Linked DNA regions of Homo sapiens: region 1 is linked to region 2. Evidence: promoter capture Hi-C in human tissues and cell types (Jung and others, 2019). All regions are on one chromosome and are shown on one strand. The core of a region is centred on a gene start or on the middle of the fragment in contact, and the rest is flanking DNA. Distances in the headings are between cores, read along the strand shown.

Region 1 (2,700 bases), core at 70-2,569, 1.2 Mb before region 2:
ACTAACATTATTCTTTTATAGCTATAAAAGTCAAAGAGAAGTTACAGAAGTTCTCTAGAATTTTACTCCAAGTATGAAATTCATCAGGAAAAAGACTAAGACTTTTTGTTTTTTGAGATAGAGTCTCACTCTGTCACCCAGGCTGGAGTGCAGTGGCACGATCTCAGCTCACTGCAACCTCAGCCTCCCCGGTTCAAGCAATTCTCCTGCCTCAGCCTCCTGAGTAGCTGGGATTACAGGTGCACGCCACCACGCCTGGCTAATTTTTGTACTTTTAGTGTTTGCGTCATGTTGGCCAAGCTAGTCTTGAACTCCTGACCTCAGGTGATCCACCCTCCTTGGCCTCCCAAAGTGCTGGGATTACAGGCATGAGCCACTGTGCCTGGTCAAGACCAAGACTTGTTGGTTGTAGTGTATGTTGTTATGCTTTTATCTTTCGCGTTATTTCTATGTCATCAGTCTCTTAACAACCGTTCCATGCAATATTGACTGAACACTTGCTAGCACAGGACACTCTAATAATAACCAATATTTATTGAGTACATATTGTATTCAGGCATTGTTATAAGCACTTTGCAAGTCTTAACTGATTGAAGTATCTTCACCACAACCTTTTGAGGTAGATACTATTATTCTCATTTTAAGGATGAAGAAACTGAAACACACAGAGGTTGAATAATTTTGAATAAATTACTCAAAATCATCTAGCTAGTAAATGATAGAGCCAGGATTTGAACCCAGGTAGTCTGAGGCCAGTGTCCATGCTCTTCACCACTCACCATGGATTCTCCCAACAGGAGTGGGTATTTGTGGGAGTGGACAAGGCAGTAGATTGTACCTTGACATCTAAAACTCAAAGGATGAGGATATCACAGGAAAGATGAAACTATGTTCAATGTACATACAAAGGAGAGAGGGATGAAGGACTGATGGTTATGGGATGATGAATTATTGTAATATTATAGGAAATTGGTCTTTTTAGATTCTCCAGATAAACTCTTGAGTATTAAATTTGTACTTTCATGATATTTACATGTAGGCACAGTGAATATTATCACTATGCCAGTTAAACAGATTATCTACTCTGTGTGAAGAAACACTTTGAAGGTATTCTTCACAACTGCATGAACTTGTTAATAATAATTCATCTTCCTTCACTGTTAATTGGATTTTTTCTCCAATTGACCCAATCCTTCTGTTAATAAAATGACTGTATCTACATTTTGATTTATGACTAAAAGTTGTGCAAGGGCAGTAAGCGCCCCCTGAATCTACTAAATCTTCCCTAGCAAAAGCAATACTAAGTAACTTATGTGCATACCTGTCAGAATTAATTGGATTGCTAGTGAAAGATTATGAAATGTCATTCATTGCCTTTTGAAATACTCATAATGTCAAGTTTACATTCTGCTGAGTCTTGTCTCCTCCTTGAATGATCTTTTCCAGAGTTAACTCTCGTTTTTTCTGAACTCCTTGTAGCTCTTTCAGCAAGTGCTTCTAGCATTAATTATAGCTTGCATTGTATATTCTTTGGCTTTACGTTTAGGAGTATTATGTTTTTCTAAGCAATTTGTCATCATCACCAACATCATCATCTCAAGAAGTAAAATATCTGCTGTTTCTTAGTATGGTCAGTTTCTGCTAGCATTGGGCACACAGGAGTGTGAATGAATAAATGCCGTGGACCTGGTTTGTCAGTGCTGGTTAACGATCTGCTGATGTTCTTAGGTGTAATTCAATCTGGTGGTCAGACCACTGGGCTGGGAAATGGGAGGCCTGGATTTTATTTCCCATTATCTGTGACTTTGGATGGGTCATTTAAGCTCTCGTTTTCTTCCCAAATAACTTAGAGGAAGAGTCTTCATCTACACCAGTACTTCTCAGCCTTCACTGCACATTGGAATCATAATGACATGGCCTCCCACTTCCAGAGATTTTTGACTTCATGCATCTGGGCTTGAGGGTTTTAAACAGCTCCTCAGGTGATTTTGAGATGCTGAAGTGCAGAAGAACTTGTCTAGGGGATCTAAGAAGTGTTAATGAGATGCTAATAGCCTGGTGTAATACTCATCACCACCCCATCACTACTCACCTCCAAGTTCTGTGGATTTGCTTCATGACTCTTTCTTACGTCTACCTCTTTCTCTGAATTTCTTGTGGCACTGTCTGGCATTATTTAAAAGTTCCTGCCTTATCATTTGCAAAATAAGTGTCAGGACAATTCTCATTCTCTGATCATCCTCCTGCCACATTGGTGGGCTTCTAAAAACACAAATATAATTGTGTTGACTTTAGGCTTAGAACTCTTGGCTGTGGAATTGAGTGCTAGCTCCTCAGAATGTCATGCTGGGTGGGCCCTACGTAATCTGCAACCTGCCTGCCTCCCTAACCACATGTTTCAACACATTCCCCTGGCACATCTATTTCCATCCATGATGTTCCATGTCTCTGTGCTTGTTCTTGTGATGCTGTGCTATCTTCCTAGGATAATTATCTTCTCCTTCCCCATGATTTGCTCATTAATCACCAACTATTCATCACTGAAGCTTCAGCTAAGATGTCATTTCTGTCAGGAAAACTTCCAGAACTTGTCTTAGTAGGCTTGATCTTCCCTCCTTTATGATAACTGGATATTTTACATATGTGTATGTATATATATATAAAATATGTATGTATATATAATATATGTGCATATATATA
Region 2 (2,700 bases), core at 101-2,600:
TAACAATTCAATCACTTTGGTGCAAGTTTAAACAAACAGACATGCAACCAAGAATTCATCCTAAGTACTGGTTTTGAGGAACTTTTTTATAACCTGTGGTACTTAGAATTTTACCGTGTTCCCATATCCTGGGAGTTAACTTGACTGGCAGGTCCAATTAAATATGAATAATAACAAAACTGATTATGGTGGATTTGTATATTGACCTTTTTCATTTGAGAGGACAATTAAAACGATCTGAATATACCTCAAGATACCTAATATTTCTGGTGACTTGCAATAATCTTTATTGAAAAGGGAAGACCTCATGAAATATTAAAGAAAATTATATCATTCCTTTCAAGGAACAGTCATGCCTATTTAGTTTTAATTCAATACTAACAGCAAGATTACTGTGTACATTTTAATTTTTAAAAATTAAAGGTTTATTTTTTGTCTCGTATCTGTGCAGACATAGATATGTACTTTTCTCACAGACAAGGCTGGCAGTGAGAATCACCCATGTTTTTAGATAATTTCGAAAGTCCTCTGAATTGTACGTGCCTGTGAAAAAAGGAAACATTAATAATTGGCATCATACCTGAGGATTGTCAGGATTTTGAAAGTGTGGGATTTGTCGTTCCCACCAAACTACCCCACAGTGTCACACACTGCAGTCTTTTTAGGCTGGGAGGCGAGTTCAAGAGCTGTTTGTTGTTCCGAGCTTGATCCAGAGAGGATCACTGTTTGACAAGTTCTATTTTAAGTCGTGCCTGAGTGTGCAGGTGTCAGCCTCTTTCATGGCTGTAGAAAAAGCACCATTACACTCCGTCTGTATTCTTCCCCCGACAATGCAGGATCGCCCCCCCGCCCCCCCGCGCGTTTGTTTCTGCTTTGCCAGCCACTTTTTCTTTGGGAAATTCTAGGGAGGGCAGGCGGACAGGACTGCGAGGAAGGGCGAGGAGGGGCAGAAAGAGGTCGTCTGCCACTCCCCTACCTTACAAGGCACGTGGCACTGGCAGTAGCAGCAGCTGGATGCAACAACTGAGATGAGGAACCTCCTCCCAGCAAGAGGATATTGAGAGAAGGAGGAGGTGGCAGCGAAGGCAAGACATGCACACTGTGTCCTTCCCCAAAGGGAGAATCCGCCCTCAAGGGAAAAACCACAAGGAAGCCACTACCCGCCCCGCCTCTGCCAGCTTGCCCCAGTGTCTGGCAGCAGTCCCCATGCACCTGCTCACCTGTCTATCCGTTCGGGGTGGTTGGGGGAGGGACGAGGGGTGTCGGGGTGGGTGGGTGGGAAGAGAAGGAGGGCAGGGCAAAAGAGGGGGTGCACCGAGGGCTCCGCCCCCCCGGAGGCTGTGCGCAGGCGCAGTGGCTGCTACCGCAGGCAGGGGGCGGCAACATGGCGGAGTGAGCGGCGGCGTCGGGGCTTCACAACAACAGTGGTGGCCGTAGCAGCGGCGGCAGCAGCGTCAATAGCATCGGCCACAGCCTGAGCTTCAGCACCGGCCAGCGTCGTGGCCAGCTGCTCGCGTCCTCGGGCTTCTCGGAGCGGCTGCAGCATCTCCGCGGGGGGCGGGCCGGGCCGGACAGACCGGGAGAGGGAGAGAGCAGAGGCAGCGGCGGCGGCAGCGGCAGCGGCAGCGGCACACCTGCTGGGCGGGCACAGCCGCTTGCCCGGCAGCGGTTAGCGGTACCGCCACCGCCGAGAATAAGCCTGCGGATCCCCCGCCGCCTCCGCGGGGGAGAGCGCCGGAGCGGGCCGGGCTGAGGCGCAGGCGGGGAGCGGGCCCGGCGCCGCGGCGCTGGTGGATGCTGGGGCTCCGAGGCGACGGCCGGGGGGCGGGGGCCGAGGCAGGTATAACGGTACCGGCGGCGGCAGCGCCGCTGCTCTTCCCTTCTCCTCAGGAGGGGGGCCAATGGCTAGCGAGAAGCCGGGCCCGGGCCCGGGGCTCGAGCCTCAGCCCGTGGGGCTCATTGCCGTCGGGGCCGCTGGCGGAGGCGGCGGGGGCAGCGGTGGTGGCGGCACCGGGGGCAGCGGGATGGGGGAGCTAAGGGGGGCGTCCGGCTCCGGCTCGGTGATGCTCCCCGCGGGGATGATTAACCCTTCGGTGCCGATCCGCAACATCCGGATGAAATTCGCAGTGTTGATTGGACTCATACAGGTCGGAGAGGTCAGCAACAGGGACATCGTGGAGACGGTGCTCAACCTGGTAAGGAAAAGGCGTGCTCTCAATCTGCTTCCCCAGTCCCCACATACACCGTCCCCAGCGCCTTTCCCTCCCACCCTTCACCCCCAGGGTCACACGCGCCGCGCGTCCCTGGGAGCGCAGAGCGTTCAGCCGGTATTGCCCAGCGGGTGACCTGCCTGCGCGCTGCTAGAGCCACGCCACCTCCCTCCTCTCCTCTTTCTGGTCCTCTCCTGCCACCTGAGCGCAGTGCCCAACTTAACACCGCTTCTTCTCACTTTTTAGGACCGCGAGTAACCCAGTACCCGCGGTGAAGGTTTTGGGTCGACTTTAGAGTTTAGTTAGGAGGTGAGGAGGCCTCCTGTTCTCTGGGGTTCTTTTTCTCACACTTAATTGTCCTTGGTGTCGCTCTCCGAGGATGACAGCCTTGCCCCTGGAGCCTAAATTCCCCCGTGCTGCTGAAATGTGAGAAGCGCATTAGCTTCCAACTTGAGCAGCTGGGGTGTGATGTTTTCGAAGGAGACAGAAA

Evidence for each region. Contacts are between HindIII fragments. The study calls those that stand out against the background at their distance.
Region 1: a contact is called between a fragment that was not itself captured here and the fragment with the promoter of NBEA in region 2, in 1 of the 25 tissues and cell types used here (dorsolateral prefrontal cortex).

Annotation. Positions count from the first base shown.
Region 1 is chr13:33,753,570-33,756,269 of GRCh38, forward strand. No RefSeq gene overlaps it. Among named protein-coding and RNA genes, the nearest start is that of RFC3, 63 kb to the right of the region's middle. The HindIII fragment of the contact is 6,252 bases long and covers 1-2,700 here.
Region 2 is chr13:34,940,920-34,943,619 of GRCh38, forward strand. NBEA (neurobeachin) reads left to right here and starts at 1,351. Exons shown (of 59, transcript NM_001385012.1): 1 at 1,351-2,195. The coding sequence starts at 1,902. It overlaps LOC124903231 (a long non-coding RNA gene), which reads right to left and starts at 1,271. Exons shown (of 2, transcript XR_007063908.1): 1 at 1,221-1,271; 2 at 402-783. RefSeq lists an enhancer at 933-1,042 and silencers at 1,213-1,282, 1,723-1,842. The HindIII fragment of the contact is 6,257 bases long and covers 1-2,700 here.